Linked DNA regions of Homo sapiens: region 2 is linked to region 1. Evidence: promoter capture Hi-C in human tissues and cell types (Jung and others, 2019). All regions are on one chromosome and are shown on one strand. The core of a region is centred on a gene start or on the middle of the fragment in contact, and the rest is flanking DNA. Distances in the headings are between cores, read along the strand shown. Region 1 holds the start of SEC24A (SEC24 homolog A, COPII component). Region 2 overlaps DDX46 (DEAD-box helicase 46).

Evidence for each region. Contacts are between HindIII fragments. The study calls those that stand out against the background at their distance.
Region 2: a contact is called between a fragment that was not itself captured here and the fragment with the promoter of SEC24A in region 1, in 1 of the 25 tissues and cell types used here (aorta).

What each region holds. Positions count from the first base shown.
Region 1 is chr5:134,647,257-134,653,672 of GRCh38, reverse strand. SEC24A (SEC24 homolog A, COPII component) reads right to left here and starts at 4,888. Exons shown (of 23, transcript NM_021982.3): 1 at 4,500-4,888. The coding sequence starts at 4,596. RefSeq lists enhancers at 4,703-5,240, 4,988-5,277, 5,288-5,347. The HindIII fragment of the contact is 35,050 bases long and covers 1-6,416 here.
Region 2 is chr5:134,808,944-134,815,854 of GRCh38, reverse strand. DDX46 (DEAD-box helicase 46) reads right to left here. Exons shown (of 23, transcript NM_001300860.2): 17 at 4,497-4,634; 18 at 4,010-4,159. Among named protein-coding and RNA genes, the nearest start is that of C5orf24, 34 kb to the left of the region's middle. The HindIII fragment of the contact is 3,502 bases long and covers 1-3,195 here.

The DNA of each region.
Region 1 (6,416 bases), core at 3,639-6,138:
GGGTGGTCTTGAATTCTTGGGCTAAAACAATCCTAGCACCTCGGCCTCCCAAAGTGCTGACATTACAGGTGTGAGCCACCACACCTGGTGAGGTCTTTTGACTATAATATATAAAATATCTGTGCTAGATGTTGTGGCTCATGCCTGTAATCCTAGCTCTTTGGGAGGCCAAGGCAGGAGGATTACTTGAGTCCAGGAGTTCAAGACCATCCTGGGCAACAGAGTGCAGCTCTGTTTTCTAAAAAAAACTGTTTAGTTAGCCAGGTTTCAGGGCATGTGCCTGTAGTCCTAGCTTCACAGGAGGCTGACGTGGGAGGATCACTTCAGCCAGGAGGTTCGAGGCTGCAGTGAGCCATGATCAAGTGACTACACTTCAACTTGGGTGACAGAGCAAGACCCAGGCTCTTTAAAAAACAAACAAACAAACGAAACTGGAACGGGTATGGTGGCTCACACCTGTAATGCCAGCACTTTGGGAGGCTGAGGCAGGAGGATCATGAGGTCAGCAGATAGAGGCCATCCTGGCCAACATGGTGAAACCCCGTCTCCACTAAAAATACAAAAATTAGGCCGAGCACAGTGGCTCATAACTGTAATCCCAGCACTTTGGGAGGCAGAGGCGGGCAGATCACGAGGTCAGGAGATTGAGACCATCCTAGCTAATATGGTGAAACGCTGTCTCTACTAAAAAAAAAAAAAAAATACAAAAAATTAGCCGGGTGTGGTGGCGGGCACCTATTGTCCCAGCTACTCGGGAGGCTGAGGCAAGAGAATGGCATGAACCCAGGAGGCGGAGCTTGCAGCGAGCCAAGATCGCACCACTGCACTCCAGCATGGGTGACAGAGTGAGACTCCGTCTCAAAAAAACAAAAACAAAAACAAAACAAAACAAACAAACAAAATACAAAATCAGCCAGGCATGGTGGCATGTGCTACAGGTGCCTGTAACCCCAGCTACTCGGGAAGCTGAGGCAGGAGAATCGCTTGAACCTGGGAGGTGGAGGTTGCAGTGAGCTGAGATCGCACCACTGCACTCCAGCCTGGCAACACAGCAAGACTCCGTCTCAAAAACAAAAAACACCAAACTGGCCAGGCACAGTGGCTCACGCCTGTAATCCCGGCACTTTAGTAGGCCGAGGTGGGCGGATCACCTGAGCTCGGGAGTTCGAGACCAGCCTGGGCAACGTGGCGAAACCCCGTCTCTACTAAATATACAAAAATTAGCTAGACATAGTGGCGCATGCCTGTAGTCCCAGTTGCTCAGGAGGCTGAGGCAGAATTGCTTGAACCCAGGAGATGGAGGTTGCAGTGAGCCAAGATCACGCCACTGCACTCCAGCCTGGGCAATAGAGAAAGACTATCTCAAAAACAAAAAACAAAAGCAAACTGAAGATCTAATTATACTGTAATATGTAATTTAAGCAAACTTCATTAAATACTTAAGACTTTTCGGCCAGGCGCGGTGGCTCACGCCTGTAATCCCAGCACTTTGGGAGGCCGACGCGGGCGGATCACCTGAGGTCAGGAGTTTGAGACCAGCCTGACCAATGTGATGAAACCCTGTCTCTACTAAAAATACAAAAATTAGCCGGGTGTGGTGGCATGCACCTGTAATCCCAGTTGCTCAGGAGGCTGAGGCAGGAGAATTGCTTGAATCTGGGAGGCAGAGGTTGCAATGAGCCATTGCACTCTAGCCTGGGCAACAAAAGTGAAACTCCATCAAAAAAAAAAAAAAAAAGAGTTTTCAACAGAATATGCAAGCATCAACTACTGCTTTGGAATAGTTAAGCAAAACTAGATCCCAGCATTGAAACGTTTTCTCACCTTCTTGAAAAATATCCTGTTCTCCAACTTGATACCATATCCCTACTCTCTGTATTATTAGCAGGATGAACAATAAAACAACCCAGGCTAGGCTTGGTAGCTCATGCCTCTAATCCCAGCACTTTGGAAGGCTGAGTCAGGAGGATCACTTGAGGTCAGGAATTTCAGACCAGCCTAGGCAACATAGAGAGACTCATCTCTACAAAATATATATAAAACATTATATATATAATATACATATATCTTTACATTAGGCCGGGCGTGGTGGCTCATGCCTGTAATCCCAGCACTTTGGGATGCCAGGGTGGGCGGATCATTATGAGGTTTGGAGTTCAAGACCAGCCTGGCCAACATGGTGAAACCCCATCTCTACTAAAAATACAAAAATTAGCCGGTTGTGGTGGCACAGGCCTGTAATCCCAGCTACTCGGGAGGCTGAGGCACGAGAATCACTTGAACCTGAGACATGGAGGTTGCAGTGAGCCGAGATCGAGCCATTGTACTCCAGCCTGGGCAACAGAGTGAAACTCTGACTCAAAAAATAATAATAAAATATATACATTATATATATATATTATATACTTATATAAAAAATGGGGCCTGGTGGTATGCACCTGTAGTTCTAGCTACTGGGGAGGCTGAGGTGTGAGGATTGCTTGAGCCCAGGAGTGACAGTGAGTTGTGATCCTGCCACTGCACTCCAGCTTGAGGGACAGTTTAAGTAAGATCCTGTCTCAAAAAAAAAAAAAAGGCAAAATACAAAAAACCTGTAGAGGCCAGGCACAGTGGCTCATGCCTGTAATCCCAGCACTTTGGGAGACCAAGGTGGGTGGATCACTAGAGGTCAGGAGTTTGACATCAGCCTGACCAGCATGGTGAAACCCCGTCTCTACTAAAAATATAAAAATTAGCTGGGTGTGGTGACACGTGCCTGTAATCCCAGCTACTTCAGAGGCTGAGGCAGGAGAATTGCTTGAACCTGGGAGGAGGAGGTTGCAGTGAGCCGAGATAGCGCCATTGCACTCCAGCCTGGGAGACAAAAGCAAAACTCCGTCTCAAAAAACAAACAAACAAACAAACAAACAAAAAACCCTGTAGAAATGGAACTTATAAAAAGACTATGAAAATTATATTTTAAAAAAGAGGTCTGGGTACCGTGGATCAGGCCTGTAATTACAGCACTTTGGAAGGTTAAGGAGGCAGGAGAATCGCTTGAACCCAGGAATCAGAGGTTGCAGTGAGCCAAGATCACCACCACTGCACTCCAGCCTGGGCAACAGAACAAGACTCCATCTCAAAAAAAAAAAAAAAGATGTGGAACAAATGTCTGTTGGACTGTATCAAATCAACATAGTGACAGTATCTCTAATACAGCATACCACAGTGGTCAAATCCCTTTAACATTTCAATATTATGACAACTACACTCATATATAAATGTTGAAGCACATTTGAGGATTTGTCATTTAAAGTTAATGTAAAACTGCAATTTATAGATTATAAGAAAAATCCATAGCCATGTAACATTTTTTCTCATCCTCAGTGTAAATGTTACTAAATATTCTAGAATAAAATGTAGTGTACATAATCTGTTACCATAATTTTGAGAAAGAATGGTTAACTCAGTACCCTTTCAGTGGCTTTCCTCCACTTATTCTTTCTTCTGCCCACATAGTTGCCTACTCACAGACATTTTTAAAAGTCTTTTAGAGCCATCTTTGTAAAGAAAACAGCGGTCTTCTCTAAAAACAATGTAAATTAGAGATTTTAGTCACTGTCTGTATTCTCCAACTTCACAGAACTCTTAGACTCTAATGGGCAACTTAAGTTCTTTAGCATTATTCTACTAGTCTTATTTCTGTAAACCAAAGATTTGTAAGTAAATTGGTAAGTAGGCAATCTGTCGGCAGAAAGTCTTTGTCTATTGTAACAACTGAAATAATCTTAGCAAATCACAATGTAGGACGATTTAAGGAATCCTAGAAGAGGTATAAAATTATAAGACATTCTCACATCAAATGACAAACTATAATGTACATGTAGACTCTTGTCAGAGATTCAGAGAGTTGTGTCCACCCACTTTCCAAATGCTGTCCAGACATCTAGAAGTCAACCAGGAGATCCTCCCTTCTATTTGGTTTTTCCACAGCTGAAACATTGAACAGCTGTTGTAGGTACAATTCTGGGAAGGTTCTGGGAGAGATGAGTAGGCCCTAAAGGGGTGTCCCAAAAGCATGCATTCATCTCCAGAAACTCAGACTGAGTACGACCCCCACCCCACTTCAGGGCCTGCGGAACCCAGAAGAATCAGACCCCACATCCTGCTCTCTAGGAGACTGGGGTGAGGTGGCAAGGAAGGCGAAGGCACACAAACACTATGATCCTTATATTCGAGTTTTGAGGCATTTTCTCACCCGTGTTTCACCCAGGGCGTTGCATACAGCAGGTGCTCATTTACTGTTTTGGTGACCGACTAAATAAATGTGAAAGACTGAGACGAGCCTGGGGCTACAGGTGCACAACTGCCGTGGTCCCCTGGCCCAGCCGCCCACCACCATCCGCGCCAGAACCCGGTAAGGAGGTCACTCTCTCTATCTATGTCGCCTCAAGCAGCAGTGGCACGCAAAGGTCAGTCAGCCCTGGCCAGGCTGCGCCCTCCCCCCGGACAGCACTCACCGTTGGTGTAGGGAGACCCCGAGGCCAAGGCGGCTCCGTTCTGGGCCTGGAGGCTGGCTGGGGCGCCGCCGGAGGCCGGTATTCCCGGCTGGGACATGATGACTGGGTTGGAAGGGGCTGGTCGGGGTCGACAACAGCGCACAAGAAGAGAGCTGAAAGACCACTGCTGAAAGCGGAGGGAGGAGGCTAACGACTTAAGACTGAAGACTGGGAGAAGAGGGGGGGGCGCATTAAGCCCGAGGCATGGCGCCGCACTCTCCCCAGGCCACCGGCGGCCACAGCCTAGCCTGGGAGCTGAGGCTTGAGAGTCGGGCCGGCGGGGCCGCGAACGCCCGGCTAGAAGGCGGCAGCCAAACCTAGAGAGAAGGAGGGAGGCCCTGGCCGGAAGTGCCTGTCAGCCGCCGGCCGCGCAGCCGCAATCAGGACACGTGGCACTTCCGGCTCCGGGCTCGCAGCAGCCGCCGCCGCGCCGGCGAACTCTTCTCTGCCAGCCGGGCTGCCCCGAGGCCACCTGACAGCTCCTGGTGCCCCGACCCCGACGACCGTGCCCGGCCTCGCCGCCACGTCACCGACTCTCACGGCCGGCCGGAAGTGCCGTGTGTCACCGCTACGGAAATTCCCGCCGTTGTGAACGTGACCTCGCTCGCAGAGCCAGGATCGTGGGGCAATCTGAGATTCAGTAGCCGCTTTCGTGGGGTGGGACTGACAGTTCCTCTCCTCGGGTTTTGTGAAGATTACCTGAGACCATAGAAGTCATCGTCCTCTGTTGAGACCGTACCACCACTGGGAGCTGGGGCGGTTAATGTTCATCGCAGTATTTCATTCACATTTCGTCTTCGTGTTTCAGATGTAAATTATAAGGGGTTTTAAAAAGAGGTGGTTAAATATGTGTACATGTTAATAGTGTGATCAAGCCAAGAAGGAGGCCTTTGTCTTTGACTGGAGGACTCAGAGGAATTTTAATTTTGAAACTCGCTGATTCACAGCATAGTCACGCTCAAGTTCATTAGCACATTTAAATGGCAGTTTTGTTTCCTCTTCTAAGAGTTTACAGTAAGGTAAAGAACTCAAACTTCCTTTCAGAGCAAGTAGACTTTTTTTTTTTTTGCAAGTTGACTTTTTTGACTTTTGAAGCCAAAGGGAGGTCGAAACTGCGGTGATTGGACAACATAGTTAATTAATGATTGAGTAATCATCTTAGCTGCCTTCATTCTATTTAGGTTTTTCCTGCTCTGTGCTGACGATAAAGCCCTCCTTTACAGATTTGTACTGTGGATTAAAATGTCATGCCACGCGGTTTCGAAACCTCAGTGTGAAGTACATCTTACCTAATTCATTTAATACCAAATGCCTGCTATGAAGTGTTATATTACATACAAAAAAAAGCCAGATCTAAACCACTGTGTCGGGCTGGGCAAGGTGGCTCACTCCTGTAATCCAAGCACTTTGGGAGGCTGAGACAGAAGGATTACTTGAGGCCAGGAGTTTGAGACCAGTCTGGACAACAGGGAGAGTCCCCTTATCTCTATTTAAAAAATATATATATATATATATTTTTGAGACAGAGTCTTGGTCTGTTGCCCAGGCTGGAGTGCAGTGGTGCCATCTCCGCTCACTGCAACCTCCGCCTCCTGGGTTCAAGCAATTCTCCTGCCTCAGTCTCCCGAGTAGCTGGGATTACAGGCTCCTGCCACCATGCCTGGCTAATTTTTGTATTTTTAGTAGAGACAGGGTTTCACCATGTTGGCCAGGCTGGTCTTGAACACCTGACCTCAGTTGATCCACCCGCCTCAGCCTCCCAAAGTGCTGGGATTACAGGCGTAAGCCACCATGCCCAGCCAATGTTTTTAATTAAATAAATTTTTAAAAAGTGGCCAGTGTGGTGGCACATCCCTGTAGTCCCAGCTACTCAGGAGG
Region 2 (6,911 bases), core at 195-2,694, 170 kb before region 1:
TCCCTTATTCCTTTGAATCAAGAAAGGAAACAAATGCAGGTTGTTTCCCCATCAAGGCAAGCGCAATGATGAATGCTTTGCTTTGACAGGAGTCACATGAGCCCTACTGCTAGGTGCATTTCTTTTTTTTTTTTTTTTTTTTTTTTTTGAGACAGAGTCTCGCTCTGTCTCCCAGGCTGGAGTGCAATGGCGCCATCTCAGCTCACTGCAAGATCCGCCTCCCAGGTTCACGCCATTCTTCTGCCTCAGCCTCCTGAGTAGCTGGGACTACAGGTGCCCGCCACCACACCTGGCTAATTTTTTGTATTTTTAGTTGAGATGGGGTTTCACCGTGTTAGGCAGGATGGTCTCATCTCCTGACCTCGTGATCCGCCCACCTTGGCCTCCCAAAGCACTGGGATTACAGGCATGAGCCACCACCGCCAGCCTGCTATGTGCATTTCTTTTAAAAAATGCCCTTTGCCCAACAGTGACTACTGATATCACTGATTACAGAAATACAAGCCCCCTTCAGAAATTTAGATCAGATTAATAAAGCTGTATCTTCTAGATCTCAAATGCACAGAAAAGCTTATTTAGGGCTTAAAAATTAATTGGTTAATTTACAAAGCTCTTTTACTACAATAAAAACAGTCCGTTTAGCTTTTGTATTTTTTTGAGACAGGGTCGCCTTTAACTCCCAGGCTCAAGGGTTCCTCATATCTCGGCCTCCCAAGTAGCTAGGACCACAGCGTGCACTAGCACGTCCAGCTAATTTTTAAAAACCTTTTTATAGAGATGGGGTCTCACTGTGTTGTCTAGGAGGGTCTTGAACTCCTGGGCTCAAGCTATCCTCCCACCATGGCCTTCCAAAGTGTTGGGATTACAGGCCATGAGCCACCACACCCAGCCTTAGATTCTTCTTAAAACATTTATTACCTATTAAAGGGTTTTAGTTATGGCCACGCACAGTGGCTCCTGCCTATAATCCCAGCATTTTGAGAGTTCAAGGCAGGAGGATTACTTGAGCCCAGGAGTTCAAGACCAGCCTGGGCAACATGGCGAAACCTTGTCTCTACAAAAAATATAAAAGTTACCCAGGCATGGTGGCACATGCCTGTAGTCCCAGATATTCAGAAGGCTGAGGTGGGGAATCACCTGAGCCCAGGAGGTCGAGGCTACAGTGAGCCAAGATCACGCCACTTTACTCCAGCCTGGTTGATGGAGTGAGATCCTGTCTCATAAAAACAAAACAAAACAAAACCCCAAGAAAACACCAACAGGGGGTCAGTTATCAACTAGTTTTAAAACTCAACATTTACCTGAGTAAAACCGTTTTAAATTAAATAGCATTCATGGTATTACAATCTGAACAAATTCATAAAATCAGGAAAGGGGGAAGTATACAATGCTAGCTGGTAGAGCTAACCTTACTTTTGATTTTATTCGTGTTAAGTACTGTTTACATTTTTCATAAAATTATATATTACTTTAACACCCGAAGAAACAATCACCGTATTTTATCACAAGATTTTAAAAAACAGTTAAAAATACTGCAGTTTTCCCTTTACACATGGAATACATTCCAAGAACCCCAGTGAATGCCTAAAAACAGAGATAGTACCGCACCGACATACACTGTTTTTTCCTATACATACATACCTATGATAAAGTTTAATTTATAAATTAGGTACAGTTAAGAGATTAACAACAATAAAATAGGACAATTATAGCAATATACTGTAATAAAAGTTATATGAATGTGGTCTCAAAATACTGTAATAGTTTCAGACTGTGGTTAACCTATGGCAACTAAAACCACAGAAAAGAGGAAACTACCATAATGTCAAAAAGTGACAGATGTTTTTAAAACATGGCTACAAATTATTTAATAGTCTTTTTTCTTGAGTGTGGGCTGGACTTAATGACTTCCTTCTAATAGAAGAAAGTGGGCTGGGCATGGTGGCTCATGTTTGTAATACCATCACTTTGGGAGGCTGAGGCAGGAGGATCACTTGAGCCCAGGAATTTCAGACCAACCTAGGCAACACAGTGAGACCTCGACTCTAAAAAAAAAAACATTTTAAAATATATATTAACAGGGCATGGTGGTGCACCCATAGTACCAGCTACTCAAGAGGCTGAGGTGGGAAGATCGCTGAGGCAGCAGTGAGTTGAGTTCGCACCACTACACTCCAGTTTGGGCAACAGAGTCAGACTCTGTTTCCAAAACAAAACAAAACAAGACAAAAAAAACCCCATAAAGAATAAAGTGGAAGTGACAGTGTGTAATTTCAGAGACAGTCATAAAAAGCACTAAAGCTTTCTCTTTGCTCTCTTTGATCACTCACTGTGGGGAAAGCCAGCTGCCATGTGGGTAAGGACAGGCAAAGAGGTGAAGAACTGAGGCATCCTATCTACATCAAAGTGACTGATGTTGGAAGCAGATCATCCAGCAACAGTCAAGCCTGCAGATGACTGCAATCTCACGAGCGCCTAAGCCAGAACTACCTGACTAAACTGCTCCTGATTTCCTGACCATAAGGAACTATGTGATAATAAGTGTTTATTGCTTTAACCTGCTAAGTTTTGATTTGTTACATGGTAACAGATAAATTTAAAAAATGAAATGTGGTCGGGCGTGGTGGCTCACGCCTGTAATCTGAGCACTTTGGGAGGCCGAGGCAGGCGGATCACGAAGTCAAGAGATCAAGATCATCCTGGCCAACATGGTGAAACCCTGTCTCTAGTAAAAATACAAAAAAAATTAGCCAAGCATGGTGGCGCGTGCCTGTCGTTCCAGTTACTTGGGAGTCTGAGGCAGGAGAACCACTTGAACCTGAGAGGCAGAGGTTGCAGTGAGCCAAGATCAAGCCACTGCACTCCAGCCTGGTGACAGAGCGAGACTCCGTCTCAAAAAAAAAAAAATGACTTTATTGGCCAGGCACAGTGGCTCACACCTATAATCCCAACACTATGGGAGGCCAAGGCAGGTGGATCACCTGAGGTCAGGAGTTTGAGACCAACCTGGCCAATATGGTGAAACCCCATCTCTACTAAAAATACAAAAATCAGCCGGGCGTGGTGGTGGGTGCCTGTAATCCCAGCTACTAGGGAGGCTGAAACAGGAAAATCGCTTGAACCCAGGAGGCAGAGGTTGCAGTTGAGCTGAGATTACGACACTGCAGTCTGGCCTGGGTGACAGAGCAAGACACGCCCGGCTAATTTTTTGAGCTAGTATGGTATCCTAGAAAGAAATGGCTTAAGGTTAATAGGACAACTGGGTTCTGGTCCTGTCTGTGTTAACTCCCACTGTGGTCCTGGACCTAACATCTTTTCTTGGAGTCAATTTCCTAATGATAAGATCAGGTTGAATTTCTGATTTCCAAAATTATTTTCTGAACTTAAGTTTAACATGATATGTCCAAAAGTGTTCTGAGATCAGGTATGTTGGGGAATTTCTGGGTTTAATGAAGTTAAACAAGATTCGTTAAAGACTTTTCACATCCATGGCCAGACGAGGTGGCTCACGCCTGTAATCCCAGCACTTTGGGAGGCCAAGGAAAGCGGATCACTTGAGGTCAGGAATCTGAGACCAGCCTGGGCAAGAAGGTTAAACCCCGCCTCAACTAAAAATACAAAAATTAGCCAGGCGTGGTGGTGGATGCCTGTAATCCCAGCTACTCAGGAGGCCAAGGCAGGAGAATTGCTTGAACCCAGGAGGCGGAGGTTACAGTGAATGGAGACCACGCCACCGTACTCCAGCCTGGGTGACACAGCCAGACTCCCATCGCAAAAAAAAAAAAAAAAAAAAAAGGACTTTTCACATCCTTTGAAGTGCTAATGAGTGGTCTATATATTGAGAGGAGGGGTACTGGTATGTAGTAGGCAGATTTTCCAAAACTGTTCTGGAACCAACCTCTTGTAAAGGTTTCCAGTGATTGTCTATCTTGATAACCATATATGGCAAGACCTCCAGTACAAAAGAAATAACTGCTTCAATTAAGAATGAGAGAATAATAGTACTTACATCAACTGCAGCATCCTCATCATCTGAATCTTGTAGACCAAGAGCTGCTTTTTGTAACTTCTTCCTCTCATTAGCCAAAGCTTGTTCTGTTTCATCAAACTTGAATCCCTTACCAGAGAACCCACTACTCTTTTTAATTATTTTCCCCTCCTTTCAAAAAAAGAAAACGAAGTTAATCTCATAGTAAAAACTTTAATGTTTAGGAATTCATACTAATTAAATATTTTTCAAGGTGGTGTATGTCAATGTAATAAAAACACTTCATCTAGCATGTAAGATAAACTAAGAGCTCTACATAGACACCACAAAATACTAAGTTCAAGAATAAGATAGGATTTTAGCTTTCACTCATTTTTCCCTCTAGAGAGAAATAAAAATAGTCGTAGCAAAATTTTCAAGTGTTAAATAAAAGATTTCCAAGAATTAAATAATCAAGGTTTAGTCACATTAATGATTTCTAGAAGAGTAACATGGGTTAAAAACTCACAGCTTTCTGCTGATCTTTGAAATCACTCCACAGTTTCTCTAAATCAGGAGGTACTGCAGTCCCTGACAATTCAAGAGCTTTAATTATGTCACCAGCATAGCGAGCTTGATCCTCTGTGATAAAAGTATAAGCATAACCCTAATGCATGATGAAAAAGTACAATTATTAGACACTAACAAGATGGATCCTACTTAGATCATAAGATAAAATCTGATCCACCTAATAAATCCTCGAGATTGACAACATTAACTAAAGAATTTTAAAAGCCACGAAAGAGTCTTACTAAATTACTTAATGGTTCAAAGTGAAATATCCAAGTTTAATTTTTATTTTTTGTTGTTTTTTATTTTTTTGAGATGGAGTCTCACTCTGTTGCCCAGGCTGGAGTGCAGTGGCGCAGTTTTGGCTCATTGCAACCTCTGCCTCCCGGGTTCAAGTGATTCTCCTGCCTCAGCCTCCCGAGTAACTGGGATTATAGGCGCCTGCCACTATGCCCGGCTAATTTTTGTATTTTCACTAGAGACATGGTTTCACCATGTCGGCCAGGCTGGTCTCAAATTCCTGACCTCAGGTGATCCGCCCGCCTTGGCCTCCCAAAGTGCTGGGATTACAGGCACGAGCCACTGTGCCCGGCCCAAGTTTAATATTTTAAAATAACACAAGCAAACTAGAAAATTTCTAATTTCTTTACACAGAGGTAGAAATATATGCAATTGGCTGGACGCAGTGGCTCACGCCTGTAATCCCAGCACTTTGGGAGGCCAAGGGGGGGTGGATCATTTGAGGTCAGAAGGTCGAGACCAGCCTGACCAACATGGTGAAACCCCATCTCTACTAAAAACACAAAAAAATTAGCCGAGTGTGGTGGTGGCATGCCTGTGATCCCAACTACTTGGGAGGCTGATGCAGGAGAATCACTTGATCCTGGGAGACGGAGGTTGCAGTGCATGTGAGATGGCGCCAATGCACTCCAGTCTGGGTGACAAGAGTGAAACTCCGTCTCAAAAAAAAAAAAGAAACATAGGTAATTTTACACAAATGCACAATTGTGTGGTCATACCTTTTGATTTTGTTTTTTGTTTTTCCTTTTTTTTTTTGAGATGGAGTCTCGCTAGAGTTTGCTATCTTCACAAAACAATCTGACCTTGCTGGGTACAATGGCTCACACCTGTAATCCCAGCACTTGGGGAGGCAGAGGTGGAAAGATAGCTTGAGCCTAGGAGTTGGAGGCCAGCCTGGGCAAAAATGGCAAGACCACATCTCCACAAAAATGTAAAAAACAAAACCAAAAAAACAATCTGACCCAAACAGTCAACTGTTGCGATTTTTTGTTTGTTTGTTTCTGAGACAAGAGTTTTGCTCCTGCTGCCCAGGCTGGAGTGCAATGGCACAATCTTGGTTCATCGCAACCTCTGCCTCCCGGGTTCAAGCTATTCTCCTGCCTCAGCCTCCCGAGTAGCTCGGATTACAGGCATATGCCACCATGCCCGGCTAATTTTTTATTTTTATTTTAGTAGAAACAGGGTTTCTCCATGTTGGTCAGGCTGGTCTTGAACTCCCAACCTCAGGTGATCCGCCCGCCTCGGCCTCCCAAAGTGCTGGGATTACAGGCGTGAGCCACCGCGCCCGGCCAACTGTTACGAATTTTAAAACATGGTTTAAGATTTTAATTCAGAAATATCTTGGCCGGGTGCAGTGGCTCATGCCTGTAATCCCAGTATTTTGAGAGGCCAAGGCGGGCAGATCACGAGGTCAGGAGATCGAGACCATCCTGGCTAACACAGGTTTTAGTAGAAACCCCGTCTCTACTAAAAATACAAAAAATTAGCCAGGCGTGGTGGCACACGCCTGTAGTCCCAGCTACTTGGGACACTGAGGCAGGAGAATCGTTTGAACCTGGGAGGGAGAGGTTGCAGTGAGCCAAGATCATGCCACTGCACTCCAGTCTGGGCAACAGAGCGAGACTCCATCTCAAAAAAACAAAAACAAAAACAGAAATATCTAAATAGCCACTGCCTTTGACCCATGGTCTGCTTTTGTACTCCTACGGGGCTACAAGTATTTACATTTTTATAGGGTTATGAACATATATACAATAACACATATATATACAGAGAAGGAGAGAGAAAGAGAAGAATATGTGACAGAGCCCAAATAGGCTACAATTTTCAGTACATGGCCCTTTCCAAAAAAATATTCTTGACTCCTTCCAACAGGTTAGAAGAATAAATGCCATTACTACTTATTAAATGTGCATAAGCAGGTGAGCTAAATCCTATGTGCATGAATTTTTCTCATCTATAAAATAGAGTAATATTATTTACCTCAAAGGAAAGTTTTAAGGATAAAATGACATTACATATGTAAAACACTTAAATCGTTTTAAGGATAAAATGACATTATATATGTAAGGAT